Regions from separate parts of the Homo sapiens genome. Here regions 1, 3 and 4 are each linked to region 2. The links are contacts of gene promoters, found by promoter capture Hi-C in blood cells and fetal thymus (Javierre and others, 2016). All regions are on one chromosome and are shown on one strand. The core of a region is centred on a gene start or on the middle of the fragment in contact, and the rest is flanking DNA. Distances in the headings are between cores, read along the strand shown.

The links. Contacts are between HindIII fragments. The CHiCAGO score rates a contact against its expected background, and 5 or more counts as called.
Region 1: a fragment that was not itself captured here is called in contact with the fragment with the promoter of POP4 in region 2 in 1 of 17 cell types (monocytes); the score reaches 5.7 in monocytes.
Region 3: a fragment that was not itself captured here is called in contact with the fragment with the promoter of POP4 in region 2 in 1 of 17 cell types (erythroblasts); the score reaches 5.7 in erythroblasts.
Region 4: a fragment that was not itself captured here is called in contact with the fragment with the promoter of POP4 in region 2 in 1 of 17 cell types (total B cells); the score reaches 7.5 in total B cells.

What each region holds. Positions count from the first base shown.
Region 1 is chr19:32,408,048-32,411,258 of GRCh38, reverse strand. DPY19L3 (dpy-19 like C-mannosyltransferase 3) reads right to left here. Exons shown (of 19, transcript NM_001172774.2): 2 at 2,903-3,042; 3 at 1-20. The coding sequence starts at 3,005. Among named protein-coding and RNA genes, the nearest start is that of DPY19L3, 3.9 kb to the right of the region's middle. The HindIII fragment of the contact is 693 bases long and covers 907-1,599 here.
Region 2 is chr19:29,604,558-29,607,988 of GRCh38, reverse strand. POP4 (POP4 ribonuclease P/MRP subunit) reads right to left here and starts at 1,706. Exons shown (of 7, transcript NM_006627.3): 1 at 1,664-1,706. The coding sequence starts at 1,670. RefSeq lists an enhancer at 1,564-2,053. The HindIII fragment of the contact is 1,017 bases long and covers 1,264-2,280 here.
Region 3 is chr19:32,357,713-32,361,086 of GRCh38, reverse strand. It overlaps ZNF507 (zinc finger protein 507), which reads right to left. Exons shown (of 7, transcript NM_001136156.2): 5 at 469-583. Among named protein-coding and RNA genes, the nearest start is that of ZNF507, 14 kb to the right of the region's middle. The HindIII fragment of the contact is 197 bases long and covers 1,473-1,669 here.
Region 4 is chr19:32,583,808-32,587,491 of GRCh38, reverse strand. It overlaps PDCD5 (programmed cell death 5), which reads right to left. Exons shown (of 6, transcript NM_004708.4): 3 at 2,481-2,542; 4 at 1,585-1,676; 5 at 563-634; 6 at 39-239. The coding sequence ends at 192. Among named protein-coding and RNA genes, the nearest start is that of PDCD5, 4.5 kb to the right of the region's middle. The HindIII fragment of the contact is 197 bases long and covers 1,582-1,778 here.

The DNA.
Region 1 (3,211 bases), core at 4-2,503, 2.8 Mb before region 2:
TAATCTTCTACTGGTACAACCTTTTGGAAAAATGGAACAGATAAATAACTAAGTCAGTAAAAAAATCAGAATGTAATAGTTCTACTTCAGATTATCAAGTAAGCTAAGTCTAGCTGCCTGTCACTGGGAAAGCTTTTCCTGTCTCCAGCGGAGGGTCCTTTCTGATTCCACAGACCTGTTTTCATTCTATTACAACTGTTACCCCGTATCTAACTGTCCATGTGTCCATTCTGCCAACTACAACGTGAGCTTCTTGAAGACAAATACATTATCTTATTCATGTTTAATACTGAGGGCCTCTGTCCGGCACAGTTTAACAACCGTAATTTAACTATGAAGTCTGTTAAATGGATGACTAAATGTGTTACGTGTCTAGGACGTAATCGATCTTTTAGATAATCTAGGTACAATTGGTGGCTTATTCTTTAAAAGCTATTTTAAAAACTTGATTACCTAAAAAATAATTATTGTTTTTTGAGACAGGATCTTGTTCTGTTGCCCAAGATGGAATGCAGTAGTGCAATCTCGGTTCACTGCAACCTCTGCCTCCTAGGTTCAAGCAATTCTCCCACCTCAGCCTCCTGAGTAGCTGGGACTACAGGCACATGCCACCATGCCTGGCTAATTTTTGTATTTTTAGTAGATACAGGGTTTCACCATGTTGGCCAGGCTGGTCTTGAACTCCTGACCTCAAGTGATTCACCCACCCAAGCTGGGATCCTAAAGTGCTGGGATTACGGGCATGAGCCACTGCACCTGGCCGATTACCTAAAACTTTTTTTTTAAACCCACAGGTTTTGCAGGAATGCTCTGGGGGGAAAAACCCACAGAATAAATAATCCAACATAACTCAAGTTAAAGGACATATAAACTAGGCAAAATATGGATAGCACATATAAGAAAGCTTAAATACCCTTAACATAAGATGAATACTTTCAGGACAATTTATTTTATTTCAGGACAATTTATTGTCCTGTCAAGATGAATACTGCAGTAGGAAAAAGATTAAGGACATGAACAGGCAATGTACAATAGAAAAAAGTGGCCAATAATAATAACAGACTGAAGATGTTTAAATTCATTAATGTTAAAGAAATGCAAATCAAAACTGTGAGTTATACTTAAATCTTGGCCAATTTGACAGCTTTCAAAATGCTAATACTGTTTTGGTAAGGGTATAAAAAATAGACATCTTCAAACATTGCTGCTAGAAGAATAAATTGGTGCCTCTCTGGAATGCAACATGGCAGCAGTGAGTAAAAGCCACCAAAATGAGCATCCCATTTGGCCAGTAATTCCCAATCTAGGCATGTACCCTGCTGTGGTTTGACTATTCGGCCCCTCCAAATCTCATGATGAAATGTGATTCCCAATGTTGGAGGTGGGGCCTAATGGGAGGTGGTGTGGTGATGGAACCAGAGCCCTTATAAACAGGTTGGTGAGATTCTAGCAGTACTGAGTTTTCATTCTGTTAGTCCTAGGGGAGCTGGTTGGTTAAAAAAGAGCCTGACATCCTGTGTTCCCTGGAAATTGCTTCTACTCTGGTCATGTGATCTCTACACACTGGCTCCCCTAAGTCTTCTGCCACGACTGGAAGCTTCCTGAGGTCTCACTAGAGGCAGATGCTGGTGCCATGCTTCTCATACAGTCTGCAGAACCCTGAGGCAAAGAAACCTCTTTTCTTTATAAATCACCTAGCCTCAAGTATTCCTTTATAGCAACAGAAATGGACTAAGACATGCCCCAAGGAAATAAAGTTTTAAACAAACATATGGCCACAAGGAAATTGATCACAGTTCTGTCTGTATTAGCAAATGGTAAGAAAACCTTTCACTTCTACAGTGGCAGCTATAAAAATACTTTACATAGATGATATTTCAAAAATACGTTAACTGGCTTATGACATGTTCATAACATAATAAGAGAAAAATAGCAAGCTACAAAACAGCACGTGGATCCCAATTTTGCAAAACTGTATACGAATGCTTATGGGTATACATGTGCAGAATATGACATTAAGACAGCAAGACAGTGCCACTGGTGTTAGTTTCAGGATGGGAGTATATTTCTTTTTCTTTGCATTGTTTAAGGTGTTCAGAAAGTACTATTATCCAAAACGTGTTAATCACTCGCTAATGGCTGAGCCAGGTGTCATGACCTCCCATTACAGATTACTTTTGTTAAACTGTTTCCCTGAATTGCTTTACTAGCCTGGCTGGTAAGAATTAACATGGCTGTAAATAATGTAAATTCTGTCAGATATCCAAAATGGTTAATGGGTATGAAGATTTTCATGTTAACTTTTAAAATCCTGACCATGCTTTAGTTACAAAAGCTACTCAGGAAGCAAGAAGTTGGTAATTAATGCTATCTGATGCATCACTTAGCAAGTCTTTACCATTATACAAACAACTGACCAAGTTCTGATTACTTTTCCCACCAATAAAAGAAAAAAAAAAAAAAGCAAAAGAAAACTTCAGGAATTTGACTAATTATAAAGAATTTTTAAAAAATGTTGATCCACCTTTCACTACCTTAATGGAAACTCACCCAAGGTAAGGTTGCCTGGTGTAAATAGTATACACGACCAGAAAAATTAGAGAGAGACTAAAATCTGGGGTGTGGGTGGGGGGACCATTACTCTAGAGAGTCAAAGGATGAGATTGGAAGAACCGTAAGTTAATGAACAGACAGCTGACAAACACTTCTAATCAAAGCTCTTTCATCTTTTGTCAAATCATAACTGTAAAATCAATCTAATCAAATTGCAATTAGAATATCAGGGTACTACAACAAGTTTCAATTGTTAGGTCCCACCAAATTTTTATCCTATTGGAGAGTGACATTTTAATATGCAGAAATAAAAGCAACCCAAATTGCTGCTTTAGTTTAAATCACCTACCAGATGGCAATTTATTTTCCAACTTCACATTTTCTTCTTGGGCTGGAAAGTCTTCAGAAACTTCTGTGGCTCTTATTTCTCTTCTTTGCCGGATGGACATCATGATGTCAGACTTACATGCATTGTTCTCCAAATCACTCCTAGATAGCAATAAACAGGCCATCAACGTCAGTGCCTTCTCCCCAACACACCCCGTGCTCATCCATGCTGAAATGCCTTTACTTATGCCATTTTCCCTCTATTAGCATGCCCTCCCTTTTTTTTTCTTCCCCCCAAGACAGGGTCTCACTGTCACTCAGGCTGGAGTGC
Region 2 (3,431 bases), core at 457-2,956:
GATACTACTGCAGGTCAGTGAATCACATTTTGAGTTGCATTGGTTTAAAATACCCCAAGTTAGAAGCTTGAGCACTTGCTAACAAGGTAACTCATTAAAAGTTATATGATATAGCTGTCTAGGATGTAGATGGTTAGAAATAGGTTTTGTTAACTGTAAGATGTTTAAAAAGATTCTTCACATTTTAATATGAAATTATAATGTGTCACATAATCGATGGTGTCCTGAACTGATAAAATACAAGTTTTTCCTTTAAACTCAAAATATACATTGGTCAATAAAGTTTCAACCTCTAAAATAAATTCCACACTTCTGTTTCTTAATTTTTTGAAAGAAGAAAACCATGGCACTGGGGACAGAGTACAGGTGTGAATGGAATAAGAATGGGACTACTAAGGCCTGGTTTATGAGCTAAATAGCTAGAAAATGTAATTTACACTATACTCTGTAAATTTAATTCCAGCTTTCTTGTACTTCCCTGAGAATGTTTGATGCAAGGTGGTTACAAGTTTTTTTTTTTTGTTGTTTGTTTGTTTGTTTTGATACTGGGTTTTGCTCTGTTGCCCTGGCTGGAGTGCAGTGGCACAATCATAGCTCACTGCAACTTCGACCTCCTGGTTTCAAGTGATCCTCCCACCTCAGTCTCCTGAGTAGCTGAGACTACAGGTGTGTGCCACCACACCTGGCTAATTCTTTTTTTTTTTTTCCAGTTTTTGTAGAGACAGGGTCTCGCTATGTTGTTGCCCAAGTTGGTCTTCAACTCTTGGCCTCAAGTGATCCCCCTGCCTCAGCCTCCCAAAGTGCTGGGACCACAGGCGTGTCCCACCACACCCAGCCAGGTATGTTTGTTTGATCAAGCAAACCAATGTGGTTGCAAGTTTTATATATAGCATCTAGTTCTCCCTCAAATGGAAGATGGGGATTATAAACTGTAGAGAGCAACTTGCGGGGCCTGATAACTTTGCTTCATCTGTTACAGGTGCTTAGTAACAGACTTGGAAGTCTTTCTGCAACAATACACATCTAACAATTACTGAACATCCATTACTTGCCAGAAACCTCATTACAAGGTACACATATTTTTTCTCATTACACTTATGTGCATGAGCAAACTGAAGCTCAGACATGCCGAGACAATCTACTTGATCATATAGGTAGAAAGTGGCAGAGATGAAAAATAAAAATTCTGATTGAAGGCCCAGTCTTAACGGTGTCTACACGCCCCTCCTTGGCACATGTCTTCTACCCCTAAGGACCAAAGCTTTGGGTTAGTGATATCATTCCCCAGCAGCTCTCGGCGCTTTGCATCAGGTTAAGAGTGTGAAACCAGCTCGCAGAAAGGAGCAGGATCTTGACCGCGGTCACCCCGGGAGATAGTGGCCAAGTTGAGCCAAGGCCTGGAACCCTCCTCTAGCATCGCACACCACTGAGCAGCCTCCGGGAGAACCTGCCTCCAGCCCTGACATCCCTCCCTAGCTCAGAGGTCGAGCCAGGCTAACCCGTGCTCCAGCCCTCAGTTTTTCTTAGGTAGGGTGGGCCCATTCCTGTAGCGGTTCTGTTAGGACTCCGCAGCAACAGGTAGCCCGGACCCATTTCACCCACCAGTACCAAGACCCCGACCCTTAACGTCCCCAACCCTCTCCAACTTCGCGGCCCCGCTTACTCTTCATTCTCGGACCGCTTCCGGCGCTCTCTGATGACGCACTGGCAGCTGCTGTCGCAGACTCTCGGAGCTCGGAGATGGCGCTATGCGTGACATCACCGGCGCTCGCCCACCTCGGGGGCGCATGCGCCTGGAAAGGGATTCGGCTACTGAGAACGTCGTAGGCGGTGTTGCTGAGCAGTGGGGAGGAGTGGGCTCGCTTCCTGGGGTCTTTTCCGCCTGCATCTTTTGGGGGACAGGCAGTAGGGTTGGGGTAAAGGCATGTGGAATGCTTGCTAAGGCCTGGAGTGGAGCGAGGCGAGGCGACTTGGAGAGGACTCGAAGGAGGTTGGGGATCTGGGAGGGCGGAAATGGGACGGGGACGGTGGGGTGAGGTCTTTGTCGTCCCTAATCAGCGCCCTTACGGATGAGCCGAGGCAGCTTCCGCTGTGAGCACGGGCACCGAAGCTGGGACAGCAGGCTTAGGTTCTAGTTCCGTGTCTGCTGCTAACTAGCTGTTTAACCTCGCTTAGGGCACTTCCCATCTGTAAGCCTCACTTGCAGTCTGTGCTGTGAGTGGGGTCGGCCTCACAGGTAGTGATGCGCCGCCTGGGTCCCTTTGATAGTTTCAGAAAGCTTTCTTGAGACTCAGAATATTTATTAGTTTTTATCAATAAAAAAATCATAGCAATAAGATCAAAGGTGGCTCACACCGTGGGAGGCGCAGGCGGGAGGATCTCTTGAGCCCAGGAGTTCGAGACCAGCCTGGGCAACATCGGGAGACCCCATCTCTACAAAACATTTAAAAAAAATTATCCAGGCGTGGTGGTGCGTGCTTGTAGTCCCAACTACTCGGGTATCTGAGGTGGGAGGATCAGTTGAGCCCAAGGAGTTTAGGGCTGCAGTGAACCTGGATTGCGCTACTGCACTCCAGCCTGGGTGACAGAGTGAGACCCTGTCTCCAAAATAAATAAATAAATTCCATATAAATAAATAAATGAATAAACAAACTCCATTGCTCAGTGGAAAGGTGCAGGAAGGCCTGGTGCAGACTTCTCAGCAGTGACCCAGTGTTGGGCAGAACTGTGGAGCCCCAATTTCTGCTGAGCACTGGGCCTGTGCTGGGTGGGAGAGAAAAGAAATACGGTCCCTTTATGCTAAGTCAGTGGTTCTCAACTTTGAGTACAGTATACATTTCTTTACAGGGGATTCTGGGAGTATGTCCAAAGGTTTTAGTTTGAGAAACATTGGCTTAAACAATTTCTTTGGTGGTGACCTTGTACCATTTTGATTTTAAACATTAGACTGCAGGCACTGAAATTGGTTCATCCCAGTGACCCCGCGTGCATTGACTTTATAAAATTTATGTATTAGTTTTTGCATATGTAGTACACTTATGCATTTATTTTATACGTATAAAATTTGGAAAGACCACATTTAAACCAAAACATGCTGCCTTTGCAGATGCCTGAAAATTGTAATTTATGGGACTGATAGAGAACTTTTATTATTTTTAAAATTAACCAATAAGAATTGTATGTATTTATGGTATACAATATGGTTTGAAATGTGTATACATTGTGTAATGGCTAAATGAGCTATGAGCGATGCTAATACACTCATTTTGTGATGAGAACACTTCAGACCTACTCTCAGTGAAATTCAGGTTATTAACTGAAATTCACTGTTATTAACTATAGTCACCATGTTGTACAATAGAGCCCTTCACAAATGTGAACTTTAAAATCAAATGAGACAGCAGAAGATGTTAGCCAGTTTCAGAGCTGTG
Region 3 (3,374 bases), core at 322-2,821, 2.8 Mb before region 2:
AATTGCTATGAAATTTATACCCATATGAAATGAAAACATAAAATTGACAGATAAAGACAATTTCCTATGTATCAACTAGACAAAATGCCTACTGTCCTAAGATTCAAGCTTAAAGTTCACATCTTAACAAATCAAACAAGACATAATACCAGCCAGGTGCAGTGGCTCACGCCTGCAATCCCAGCACTTTGGGAGGCTGATGTGGGAGGATCCCTTGAGGCCAGGAGTTCGAGGCTGCAGTGAGCTGTGATCATACCACTGCACTCCAGCCTGGGCAATACAGCAAGACACTGACTCAAAAAATAAATAAGTAAATATATAAAACAACAAAATATAAAACCAATTAGTGAAAATTTCTTACTTCTTAACCTGTGTTTCAGTAAGTGCTATACATTTTTATTTCATTTTATTTCTTTAATATAAAATATTTTAATACAAACATTAAAATTCTAGAATCATAACACTTACCTGTACGGCTTATCAGAGTTATGGATTCGCCTGTGGTTTCTGACACCAACATATGTTGTACTTGTATAATCACACACATCACATCTATATTGTTTCTGGACTGAAGACTTATTCCCTAGACAAGGTATTTCAGAGTTTTAGTAGCAGGCTTTGACAAGATTCAAATGACAGCATTTACATTCCATTGTAAATGAAAATTTATACCACACAGTTGTATTAATATTTCAATCACGGCTTTCTCACTGTTTTAACAAGTCTGAAGTGGTTTTATAGGTTTTCCTGCATATACACTATCAGCAGATATAAACTGAACATCATCTGACCTATAAACACAGATAGGTTGGGATGATTCCTGCATAACCATGTACAATATTCTAAGTCATAATGAACTTGCTTCTGGCTATGTAGGAGCTAAATTAATCAGAGACACCCTGTTGATCTGTATCACCAAATAGGTGTTACTCTAACCAATATTGGATATACTGTCTTACAGAAACACTGACTTGACAACAAGCTGTAATTTAATACTATACTCCAATATTATAAAGTGTGGCTATGAAGCATATATAACCAACTCAATATAAAAAGCCTGGCTAGGTGTGGTGGCTCATGCCCATAATCCTAGTACTCTGGGAGGCTGAGGTGGGAGGACTGCCGGAGGCCAGGAGCTGGAGACCAGCCTGGGCAACAGAGCAAGAGATCTCTCCCCCACTCTCACCCTACAAAAAAAAAGCCTAAGGCCTTTTCACCCAGTGCATTTTCTTTGTTTACCACTAAACGTCAGCTACCAACGCAACAAGAAAGGAAAAGCGGCCGCAAATTTTTAAGTGCTATGCAATGTATAATTCTTTCTAGTTAACTGACAGGTTACAGGGACAAAGGTTATGACTGACATGAATATGCAGCTCTCCGAAACGCAGGAGACATGGATCCAACGAAAAGTAGCCATGTTACTAAACTCACTCTGCAACAACAGGGCTGAGTAATTCAAGTTGGGGTAAGCTTATGTCAACACGAGTTGAGTGACTTGATCATATAAAACGATTTCTTGAAGATATTCAACGCTTCATGTACTTGTCTGTCAGCATACAGTCCACAGGCTATTCACACTCTGCTTTATATTCAGAAACAAAGCAAGCATGGAAGCTCATGAAAAAGGCAGAGCAGGAAGAACTGTGTGTCTCTTGGCAGGAAGAAAGCTTAGGTAGAACACCTGTATACACCGCATAAAAGTAAAATCCGTGGTATTATACAAAGGAAAACCCACACTGAAATTTCAACAAAGAAAATCCTTAAGTTAAATTTACGGTTTCTAAAATTGAAATTTTCTTTTGCTAATAACTACTGCCAAGCAGAACAAAATGTCCTAATTTCCTGGTATAAATCTATAACGTTAATATACACACTAATCATAATTATAATCTAAGTATTGCTCTTAATTGGTAGGTTAAAAACTTGGACTTGATTATAAATGGCACTGTTCCAAATACAGTTTTAAAAAAACCCTAAAAAATGAAGTGTGAAATATTGGATAATGGTTTTGTGTGAGAAATATTACAGATCAATGACAACTAATAAAACTGACAGATGGAAAAACTTAATATAGCACAGAATGAGAGCCTGTGCTACTTCAAGCAACTGTTTCCAATGGAAAGAATATTGGATTTAAAGTTCAAAAACTTGGGCTTAGTCCTCGCTCTGCCACTTTCTACCAGTATGATCATGGGTAAATTATTTTGCCTCTTGAAGTCTCAGTTTTCTCATCTACAAATTGGAAATGCTAGAACCTCACAGCATAGTTTAGTAAGTCCTATATTTTTCCTTTAGCAAAGTCTGTACTTTACCTGCATGTCTGGGTAAAATCTCTGCCCTGCCACTAAGCTGTCTATTCCCTGAGGATAAGGATCTGCTTGTTTTGTTTAGACTGAATCCCCAGCGCTTGGCAAATTATAGGTTTCCAATAAAAAACAATTTAATTAGGTTTCATGGAGTAACACCATACGAAAGGGCTTTGCTTGCGGCTCTATTTGAGCTCCTGCGGTATCTGCTGACATACCCATCAGCCTCGTTCTGTCTTCTTCACTGAGTTGGATTCCTGAAGGGCAGTGATGCCTTTCACTGTACTCCCAGCACCTAACACAGTATCTAGCTCAAGACAGGCAGGCCATGCCTTTTGGCCAAGCAAATGTTAAGCTGAAACATGCCCTAAGGTATCTGTGCTATCTGAATGGCAGAGACTGAGGATCACAGAGGCACAAATCTCTCTTCTTGTTTAACAAGTTTACTAAATAGGTAAAGAAGTTTTAACAAAGCATGAATTATTATTACCTTATTTGTGAGCTAAAAATTTTTTCTTTGGCCTGACAACCAGATTTCAAAATATCTAATATTGAGTTAATAAAGTACCCATCCAGGTATAAGTATGCAGCCATTTGAACTGCTACAGTACTGAGAGAAAAAAGCAAATGGAGCCAGGTGGAGGAAAAGAGGCATGGCAGGCAATTTAAAAATCCATGCATGTAACCCTAAAAAAAAAGCATGAGCCACAAAGAAAAGATGCTGCAACATAAAATCTAGTAAACATTCATTAATACTGTAAAGTCTGAAGTGGTTATTTTAATTTTGAGCTGACACTTTAATCTTTTTATTAAAATTGTGAATTTTAATGTTAACTCATTTGGACAGTTTGAAATGTTTGCTTTTTAGGACGGTGCTAAAAAAGACATCTTCCAACACTGATATTAACTGCAGGTGGTGCTACTGAGTAGTATTTACTTCATCCTTTCATTAGGGATTTATGGTCCAATCATATCAGACGTTTTAATGTCTCCTTTAAAGGGGATATGGAAACATAATGAATTAAAATAAAAGGAGGCATTTAGGGCTATTTTGTAAAAAGGAAACAA
Region 4 (3,684 bases), core at 431-2,930, 3.0 Mb before region 2:
AAGGGGAAAAATTCAAAACACAGATCTGGCCACTTGGCTATGATACTAAAACAACTTACCCAAATGTTTTATTTTGCATAACAAGTTTATTTTTTTAAAAGGCATATAGACAATAAACAAAGTAAATAATCAGATCTTAACTTCTGTCCTAGACTTGTTCCGTTAAGTTCTAGTCTGTGAGCACTTGTAGTTCAATAATCGTCATCTTCATCAGAGTCCATTACTTTTCTTCTGTTGAACTGGGAGGAAAATTAAATGAGTGTCAGAACATTTCTAATAAAGCATAACTCAGATTTTCCGAGAAAAGATTTCTACCAATTTTAGCAAGACATTTGTGTCTTTAAAGCAACTTAGCGTGAACTAAAAGGGTGGGAATGGAGTCAAGAGCCTATAAAAATTAGAACCCTCCCCCAACAGATTCAGCCTTTCTCCCCAAACTTTCACGTGTTTGACAAAAGGAAAATGTCTCTGGGCTGAAAAATATGTGTGGTAGATGTATACTCAACATTAATCTTTAAAGTATCCATCTTTTCATTTGCCACAAGCATCTGGGGACACTTACTTTCACTGTTGTTGTCTTTTCTGTTTGTTGGCTTACTTTTTTAAGGATTTCTATTAAACCTTGTTCTGATACCTAGGAGAACCAGAAAAGATAAGAAAAACAGTACTTTTTTAAACAAAGAATTTACCTCTGCAGATGGAATCACTTTGTACTCTTTTTGAGGTGTGGGGAAAGAGCTCAGGAAGGAAGCAGTGGTGAGGCAGGAGGTTGAAACTATTGGTTATAACTATTGGTTTAAGTTCCAAATAAAATTTGCTCTGCTATTCCTCACTTGAGAAGGAGGGGGAAGTATCCATAAAATTGCTTCCTCAGGAAAACTGAAAGCTAACATATTTAAGAACACCTTTATCATCACTAGCTGAGTGTGACAACCACATATACCACGGTGTTTGGTGTCAGGAATAGACACACCACTTCTGCCCGAGAAGCTTAAACATCCCCTTGAAGGAGGTAAGTCACACTCGGAAAAGATCAACCCAACCAGCTCTCTCCCACACAAGCAGTTCTCAGTGTGAGGGGTTTAGGGGACAGGACCAATTCGGGTAGGCTGTGGTGGTAGCAGACGGCTTCTCAGGGCAGGTGGGGTTCGTCTTGATCTCAAAGGCCAGGTTTGCCACAACATACCCCTCATGGTATTACAGCAACACAGAGAACATAAGCAAGGCATCTTAGCACCTTCTCATCTGCAAAACACACCTTCTACTTACACTGGTAGTATTTTAATTGGTGTTACTGACAAACCTTGCTTCCAGTGCAGGGGCAATTGAAGCTAGCTGACCCTAACAGTCATTGGGTCACAGACACCAACAAGGTTCCAGAGCAACGCCAGGAAAGGAGCGAAGCAGAGGAATTTAGGAAAGGCAATTTATTCTCTTTTAAAGTAGGTATGACTATTCTCTCCAACAATTTCTTCTGAGAGTCAGCAAGAATTCTGTAATCCAGTGAAGATGCAGCTGACCTTTTGAAGCCATGTTTTGATAAAGCAGGTAACAGTAAAGTTCCTCAAGGCTGTCTAAGCTTACCTTCTCACTTAGTTGTCCATATCTTGCCATCTGTATAAGGTAATTCTCTACTGCTTTAGTTTTTTCAGGCTTTACAAGTGCTAAGTTACTTACTAAAAAGAAAAAATACATATGCAAAAAATCCATTAAAATCAAATGCACTTATGTTATACCTTAAAACTATGCATTGACCTTTCCAAAGCACTTCACAAGCTTGTCCCTCAGTGTAGGGCAAGACAGTATTGTTACTCCTCTTAAAAATGAGAAAACTGAAGTTCACCCATGCCAATCTCCACATGGGCACATGGGGGTAGTGGCCCAGCCAAGATTAAAGTTGGGTTCTCAGATTCTAAGCACCATGCTTCCTGTTTCTTAAAATATATGACTGCCCTCTGGAAAGCGGTTTATCTATTACACATAATGGTGGTGATCCACCTGTGGCCGCCTTTTCTACACTCAAACTGGGCTTCCAGTTAAAATACAGAAAATACCAGTTCATTCTGACTGTCTCATTTTTTCTTTCTACAGGTTTTGGTTTTTATGATGAACAACTCTGAACATACACTAAAACTGACAATACATATAAAAAGCCCCTAAGTCCCCCATCCCCAGTCCCCATCACCAGTTGACACAAAATGTCAACTACCAGCAACATTTTGTGATTGGCCCTATGAGTTGTTTCCTATAAATCTTACCTAATACACACCTGGAGAACATCTTGGTAAGAGAAGTGACCTGGTACTTTTACTAGGGATTAAAGTACAGTTCTCTAGGTTTATAAACTTCACACTTCTTACACATCTCAAGTGTTTTCAGCCTAAGCAAATATTTCATCTAGTGATAGCAATAATGGTATCTAATCACCCCATTCAACTAACTCAAGCTAACTTTATGGAAATGAAATCAAAGATGCTTACACCTGGCCCGGGCCGACTGATCCAGAACTTGGGCTAAGATACTGTTTCTCATTTCTGCTTCCCTACAACGAAAACATAGGTCAAACACAATTAAAACACAGCTGTCGGCATTCCCATGTAACATACGAGAAAGAACCCATCCAGTATGTGTCTCCACATGGGGCCTGCGGTATACAAACTGCATTATGGTAGTTGCTGTACATAAGGCTGCAGCTACATTCAAGTAGAATCCCCTTTTGCCCTCAAAGAACCAGCTTTATATTACACAGGTGACAACCTACCAGGCTGGAAGGTGAGCTTTACAGTTTCATCAGAGTGGAGCCTCAGTTCAAACACCATCACCAACATTTCTTAAGTACCTATTGCGTGACAGGTGCTAGAAATTTATAGTGGGATTTCAGGCAATTAGAAGGACCATGTGACTAATCTATATCATTTTCTTAGAGATAAAGCTGAGATCCAGGAGGCTATGCTAAAGAGACATAGGTAACTGTGGCCAAGCTACAGCCAGATTCCATGTTTTAAGACTCTCAGTTCTATTTTTCTGGGTGGGGAAGGGGAATGAAATTATAACTTTGCAACTATCCTCACTTCTTCCTACCTACCCAAATAGAAAGTAGTTCACGTTCACAGGACAGTGGTCTCATGGACTTGTTTCTTTTTTCTTTCAAATGAAATCCTTTAAGAAATCTAAAAACAAATGAGCACAGATGCTTTGGCTCAACTGAGAGGGAGAGCTGGGGCTGGCTGTGCCCACTATCCACTCCCAGCTCAGAGGCCCTTCGGTTCATGGAATGTGGCTTAAAGCTCATTTCCATAGGCCACTTCTTTATGGTTTGAGTACTGCAGCCCTGCCACAAACTTTAAGAGATGGGGTCTAGGCCAGGCATGGTGGCTCATGCCTGTAATCTCAGCACTTTGGGAGGCTGAGGTGGGTGGATCACTTGAGGTCAGGAGTTTGAGACCAGCCTGGCCAACATGGTGAAACCCCATCTCTACTAAAAATACAAAAATTAGCCGGGCATGGTGGCGGGTGCCTGTAATCCCAGCTACTTGGGAGGCAGAGGCAGGAGAATCGCTTGAAGCTCAGAGGCAGAGGTTACGGTGAGCCAAGATTGTGCCACTGCACTCCAGCCTGGGTGATGGAGTGAGACTTCATCTCAACAACAATAAAAAAAGATGGGGTCTCACTCTGCTGTTCATG